Regions from separate parts of the Homo sapiens genome. Here region 1 is linked to region 2. Evidence: promoter capture Hi-C in 16 types of primary human blood cells and fetal thymus (Javierre and others, 2016). All regions are on one chromosome and are shown on one strand. The core of a region is centred on a gene start or on the middle of the fragment in contact, and the rest is flanking DNA. Distances in the headings are between cores, read along the strand shown. Region 1 has its middle 70 kb from the start of PBDC1. Region 2 holds the start of NEXMIF (neurite extension and migration factor).

Region 1 (3,793 bases), core at 1,217-3,716, 1.3 Mb after region 2:
CGTCAACATAAAAAATTAGTAGCATTTCTATATGCCAACAGTGAACAATGTGAGAAAGAAACAAAAAAGTAATCTAATTTAGACTCACCTAAAATTAAATACCTAGGAATTAACTTAATCAAATAAGTGAAAGATCTCTATAATAAAAACTATGAAAAACTGATGAAAATAATTTAAAAGGACACCGAAAAATGGAAAAATATTTTATCTTTATGTTTTGGAAGAATATTGTTAAAATGTCCATCTACCAAAAGCAATCTACAGATGCAATGCAATCCCTATGAAAATACCAATGACATTATTCAGGGAAATATAATAGCAAAAACAATCCTGAAGCTTCCATGGAATCACAAAAGTCCCAGAATGGTCAAAGCTATCCTGAGCAAAAAAAAAAAAAAAAAAAAAAAAAAAAAAAAGAAAAAGAAAAACTGGAGGACTCTCATTACCTGATTTCAAACTCTACTATAGAGCCACAGTAACCAAAACAACATGGAACTGGCATATAAATAGGTACACAGAATAATGGAACAGAATAGAACCCAGAAACAAATCCATACACCTAGAGTTAACTCTTTTTCAAGAAAGTTGCCAGGAACATACATTGCAAAAAGACAGTCTCGCCATAAATGGTGCTGGGAAAACTGGATATCTATGTGCAGAAGAATTAAAATAGACCCCTATCTCTTGACATATGTGAAAATCAAGCAAAATATTATTAGACCTGATATTTGATATATCAAAAATCAAAATATTATTAGACCTGATATTTGATAGCACGACAGTGTGACTATAGTCAATAATTATGTAATTGTCCATTTAAAAATAACTAAAGGAGTACAATTGGATTGTTTGCAACACAGAGGATAAATATTTGAGGTGATGAATATCTCATTTAGCGGGAAGTGATTATTACTTTTTTCATGCCTATATCCAAGCATCCTATGTACCCTATAAATATATACACCAATATTTACCCACAAAACTTAAAAAATTAAAAAGAAGAAATAACATTATAAACATTTTCAAATCTGGGGAAATATATAGATGTAACTGAACAATCTCCTATTATGTTCAATCCAAACAAGACTACACCAATCATGTTAACAATCATACTATCAGAAATCAAATGCGAGAGAGAATCATGAAAGGAGGAATAGTTAAAAAATCACACAGAAAGAAATGTTAATATGCTGATTTCTGCACAGAAACCTTAAAAGTCAGTAGCGTTGGATGATACATTCATGATACTGAAAGAAAACCCTGCCAACCAGGAATAATTTACCCCAAAATGCTGTTCCCCACAGGTGAAGAAGAGATAAAGACTTTCTGAGACCAGACATGGTGGCTCATACCTATCATCACAGCACTTTAGGAAGCTGAAGTGGGTGAATTGCTTAAGCCCAGAAATTCAAGACCAGCCTTGGCAACATGACAAAACCCTGTCTTCACAAAAGGAAAACACAGAAAAATTTACTGCACATGGTGGAGCATGATTGTAGTCTCAGCTATTCAGGATGCTGAGGTGGGAAGATCACCTGAGCCTGGGAGGTTAATGATGCAGTAAGCTGTGATTGCACCACTACACTCCAGCCTGGATGACAGAGTGAGACCTTGTTCAAAAAAAAAAAAATCTCTGAGACAAAAGCCTAGTTAGGTCATTCCCACTATACCTGCCTTGGAGGAAATGCTAAAGGGAGTTCTTCAGGCTGAAAGAAATAGAAACTACTGAGAAACTTTAAAGCATGAAAGTATAAGACTCATGGGTAAAAGTAAGTATATAATCAAATTCAGAATACTCTAATACTGCAATGGTCTGTGTAAATCACTTATATATTTAGTGTGAAGGTTAAAAATACACAATTATTAGAAAAATAATAGCTACAGTAATTTGTAAGAGATACACAATATAGATAGAAATTGTGACATCAAAAAGAAAACGTGAAAGGAGAGTAAAAGTGTAGTTTTGTATGCTAGTCAAATTCAGTTCTCATTAGCTGAAAATGATCTGTCATAGTTATAAATTATTTTATGTTTGCCTCATTGTAACTGCAAAGCAAAATCTATAAGAAGTACAAAAAAGAGAGAAATTAAGGTATTAAAGCGCTACTCCAGAAAATTATCTAATCACAAAGGAAGACAAGAGTACAGAAACAAAATAGCGAAAGATTTATAAAACAACCAGAAAATATTTAATAAAATGGTAGTAGTAAGTCCTTATTATCAATAATTAACTTGAGTTTAAATGGATTAAGTTCTTCAGTCAAAAGATACATGGTGGCTGAATGGATTAAAGAAGAAAATAAGAATGCTGCCTACAACAAACTTGCTTCATCTTTAAGGATACACATGTACTGAAAGTGAAGGAATGGAAAACGATTCCATGCAAATCGAAACAAAAAGAGATCAAAGATAGCTATACCCACATCAAATAAAATAGACTTTAAGTAAAAAAGATTAAAAAGATACAAAGTACATCATTATATAATGACATAATTCATATAATTCATCAAGAAAATGTAACAATTGTAAATATGTATGCCCACAACATCAGAGAACCAAAATATATAAAGCTGACAGTAGATCTAAAGGATGAAACAGGCTGCAATAAAATAATAGTAGGGGACTTCAATACCCCACTTTTAAGAGATGGACAGATAGTGGCCAGGTGGAGTGGCTCACACCTGTAATCGCAGCACTTTGGGAGGCCAGTGTGAGCAGATCACCTGAAGTCAGGAGTTCTAGACCAGCCTGGCCAACATGTAAAAACCCCATTTCTCCCAAAAAATACAAAAAAAAAAAAAACAAAAACTAGCTGGGCATGGTGGCACATGCCTGTAGTCCCAGCTACTCAGGAGGCTGAGGCACAAGAATTGCTTGAACCCGGGAGGCAGAGGTTGCAGTGAGCCAAGATCATGTCACAGTACTCCAGCCTAGGTGACAGAGCGAGACTCTGTCTCAAAAAACAAACAAACAAAAAACAAAAAAGAAAAAGAAACAAAATGGATGGAAAAACCAAACAGAGAAATCAATATGTAGTCAGCACGCTTGAACTACTCTTTAGACCAAATGAATCTAACAGATATATACAGAAAATTCTATCCAGTTGAAGAATAAAACACATTATTTTCAAATATACATAAAACATTCTCCAGGATAAATGTTAAATTATTTATTAGTCCACAAAATAATTTTTTTTCTCTTATCTTTTTTTTTTTTTTTTTTTTTGAGACTGAGTCTTGCTCTGTTGCCCAGTCTGGAGTGCAGTGGCGTGATCTCTGCCTACTGCAAGCTCCACCTCCGGGGTTCACGCCATTCTCCTGCCTCAGCCTCCTGAGTAGCTGGGACTACAGGCGCCCGCCACCATGCCCGGCTAATTTTTTGTGTTTTTATTAGAGATGGGGTTTCACCGTGTTAGCCAGGATGGTCTCGATCTCCTGACTTCGTGATCCGCCCGCCTCGGCATCCCAAAGTGCTGGGATTACAGGCCCGAGCCACCGCGCCCGGCAACGTGCTTCCGAACAACCGATCTATCAAGGTAGAAATTAAAAGAGAAACTTAAAAATATCTTGAATCGGCGGGGTGCGGTGGCTCACGCCTGTAATCCCAGCACTTGGGAAGGCCGAGGCGGGCAGATTACAAGGTCAGGAGATCGAGACCATCCTGGCTAACACGGTGAAACCCCGTCTCTACTAAAAATACAAAAAATTAGCCGGGCGTGGTGGCAGGCGCCTGTAGTCCCAGCTACTCGGGAGGCTGAAGCGGGAGAATGGCGTGAACCTGGGAGGCGGAGCTT
Region 2 (3,592 bases), core at 171-2,670:
TCCCTCACGAATCAGACAGACAGAAGCAGTCATGCTGAAATCGCTGAATTCCTCAGCGGAACGGCGCCAACTCAGCAGCGCGGTTTCCACACTTTCCCGGAGCGGGACTCCGCTCCCCGCGCCGGCTCACGGCCTTCCCGCCCTACAGGGTGTACAAGACGCGAGCCGACGTGTGCTGCGGGGCGCGGCAGAGAGAAGCGCCAGAAGCCACACAGAAAAGCGTCAATTCGACCGCCACCGAGAGCGCGAAGGGGCCACAAGCCAATTTCCGCAAAGGAGATGAGCTGGGCGAGGCTCGGTCTGGCCTCCAACTTAAACCTGTCCGCAGCCTCGGCCGAGTGGCGCGTGTCCTGGGGGCGCTCTGTGGTCGCCACGGCCGCCCGGCTTCGCACCTTTGCGGCTTTGGTCCGAGCGCCCGGCCTCGGCCGCCGCGTGGGTTTTCCCGCTCTCGCCGAAGCGTGCCATGCCCATGCCCCATTCCCTGGCCAGGCTCTACCCTGCACCAGTCCGAAAGGAGGCGGCACTCTGCCGAGCTGCGTGCGTGTAAGCGCGGCGGCTCCGGTCCGCTCGCTTCCCCTCCCCCCGCAACCCCCTTCCTACGGCGCAAGCACAGAGGCCTTTCCTAGATTGCAGTGCCTGTCAGGGCGAGCCGGGATCTCTCGCCCTAGCGGCCTCGCTCCCTCATACACAGACACACACATTCGCATACAGACGTCCTCCGTTCCGTTTTCCCTTCCTTCTCGTCTAGCTCGACTTACCCCAGTTCATTCCACCCCCTGCGGCCGCCACCCCGAGCCAGCCGGGGAGCCGGCGAGAAGGCCAGGAAGCTGTATGGCAGCGCTCCTACTCACCTCACAGGCCGACTCCCGAGGCGCACGTCGCTGGCGGGCTCAGGCAGCAGGCGCTGTAGCTAGCGCGGTCGCAGTCAAGGCTGGGCTGTCGCCGTCGCCGCAGCTGTTCGAGCTGCCTTAGCCGCCACCGCCGCTGCTACTGCTGCCGCCGCCGCCGCCGCCTCTGCCTCAGCTCCATACGCTGGGCCCGCCAGGTGGACGCGCCTCTCTCCTCGCTCGCTCCCTCAGGCTCCGCCGCCGCCGCGCTAGATGGAGTCAGAGCTGTCGGGCTCTGGCCCTGAAACTCAGAGCCTCCGCGGCTGCCCGGCTGCTCCAAGGGTCCGTGCTTCGCTTACACTGTCGCTCGCCCCGGCTGGAGCTACCTAGCGAGCGGGCTGCGCGCTCGGCGCCTGGAGCCCGCTCTGTGCGGTGGCTGCGGCCGTCCGCGAGAGGGAGAGAGGAGGGCGGCTGCTACTGTCGCTATAGCTGTTAAAGCTATTGCTAAATGCTGCTACTGCCGCTAATGCTACTGCTGTGGCGGCGGTGGTGGCGGCGGCGGCTGCTGCTGCTGCTGCTGATGCTACTGGTTTTCCTTCCCAGGTTCTTCCCCTGCCTCGTCCCCCCTCCTCCCCCTTCCTCCTCCTCCTCCTACTCCTCCTCCTCCTTCTCTTCCTCCTCCCTCTTCTCCTCCCTCTGCCGCTTTTCTCAGAGCCTCTGCAGGCACTGCCTGGTCCCCTCTTCTCCCGGAGCTGTCTCTGCCCATTCAGAAAGGTGCCCAGAGTGGGGCCGCCTCTGCTGCCACCATCGCTGTTGCCCCTGCCATTGTTTCCTCCAACACGGCTGTTCTTGCTGGACGCCTTCCCCCCTCTACCCTTCTTCCCCACCACAGCTCTCCCTTTCCCTCCCGCTCTCCTTACCCTCTCTATGGTCCCTTCCTTATGTGCCCCCCCAACTCTGTCCGTCTGTCCTTCCCTCCCCTCGGGCGCCCGGGAGCGCGCACTGCGCGGCCACCTGTCATAAAGGGCGCGCACCCCCCTTCCCCATTCCCACCCCGCCCCCCACTCGCGTTCCTGCTGCCCTTCCAGTCCACTACGCCAGTGGTGCGTTCTTCCCCTGGCAGACACGCAACCGGACACCACTCTCCCATGCCTTTTAGGGCAGTTGTGTGTGCGGAGAGGGGCACTCTGAAGTTTGGGGAAGAATATTTGAATGGTTTCATCCACCAAGCATCTAACCATTCAACCTTTACCTACTCTTAACTTAAGGGCCTGGGCCCCCAGGAAGGTGGGTCCTTTTTGAAGGGTTGGATGAAGGCAGACAATTGGGGAGTGACGTTTGGGGAATAAAGGAAAGAAGGGAAGCTGAATATGGCCAGGAAGGAAAACAGATCTGCCTGATGGCTGTCATTGAAAAATCTCTTAGGTGGTCATTTTCCTTCAGACGTCCTGGGAACTCAACAGGAAACAGCAAAACGATTGGAGAGCAACTCAGGAGGGACCATTTAGTACTTCTGGAGTCCTGGGTGCAAGGTTGAGGCCTGAGCCTCGGGAGATTTGTCACCACTAGGAGCCAAGGCAAGAGATGAAAAGGTTGGTACTAGAACAGAAGGGGTAAAAGTAGCTACTTTGTGTGCACTTGCTCCAACATCATTGCCAAAGCACAGCTTCTCCAGTCAGGCAGGGCCTCATTTCAGATTTCTTTGCTGCCACAGCTACAGCGTCATTTTGCTACGAGGGCTCAGGCTTTGAGATCTGATGTGTGCAACTTCTCACCATCACCTGTCACACAATCCCTCCCCAGAAACAGTGCAGAGGCGGGGGTATATTTTCTTTTCCCTGGCAAAGTACAGGAGATAAATGTTCCAGATATCCCATTGACAATAAGGTCTGGGTCACTTTACCAAGTTTGAGGCGCTCTACCATGGGTCTTTCATTCCTGGACAATAAACTGTCTGTATGGCTTTTACAACTCCCCATCTCTGTGCCTTTGTTTCTGTCATCCCACTTGCTTGAAACACTCTTGTTATTTCTCCCTCTCATTTTATATCTATGAAACTCATCCATAAATAATAGCTCATCCTGAAATAATTATACTTATTGGGTCCTTACTATGTGCCAGACACTGTGCTAAGCAATTTACATGAATTATTTAATCTTCACAACAAACACAATTTTACTATCTCCATTTTACAAATGAGAAAATCGAGTCACAAGGAAGTTAGGTATATGTGTCCTGAGGATAGGGATGATATGTTATTTATCTTGCATTTGTGAGACACTGTGCAAATATATTTGCATCTTTCAGGCACTGGAATAAATAAGAAGACAAAATTTGGCCTCTGTTCTCAAAAGCAAAAACAAACAAACAAAAAAGGTTAAACATGTAAAATGCCACCCATCTATTGGCTGGATCTCAATATCCAGAATGAATTGCTCTTTTTCCGTTGTCGGAAAGCACATTGTTTTCACCTGTATTAACTACATATGCTATTCTTCCTTTATAAAGTTAGTTGCTTATTTGTTACCAGTTATAATTTTTGTCAATGCCCTCCAGCCAAAAACTACCAGAAACACAACTGTAGTTGAACAATTTGGGTTTACTACTTGTTAGAGTGAGGGAGAACACACACCATGGGTGTTATGGGCTGATTTGCATTTCCCCAAAAATTCATATGTTGAAGCTCTGACTATTCCCAGTACCCCAGAATGTGACTGCTTGGAGATAGGGCCTTTGCAGAGGATACTAAGTTAAAATAAGGCCTT

The links. Contacts are between HindIII fragments. The CHiCAGO score rates a contact against its expected background, and 5 or more counts as called.
Region 1: a contact is called between a fragment that was not itself captured here and the fragment with the promoter of NEXMIF in region 2, in 1 of 17 cell types (naive CD8 T cells). The highest score is 6.0, in naive CD8 T cells.

What each region holds. Positions count from the first base shown.
Region 1 is chrX:76,240,884-76,244,676 of GRCh38, forward strand. No RefSeq gene overlaps it. Among named protein-coding and RNA genes, the nearest start is that of PBDC1, 70 kb to the left of the region's middle. The HindIII fragment of the contact is 4,264 bases long and covers 335-3,793 here.
Region 2 is chrX:74,924,032-74,927,623 of GRCh38, forward strand. NEXMIF (neurite extension and migration factor) reads right to left here and starts at 1,421. Exons shown (of 4, transcript NM_001008537.3): 1 at 852-1,421. RefSeq lists a silencer at 300-459. The HindIII fragment of the contact is 8,655 bases long and covers 1-3,592 here.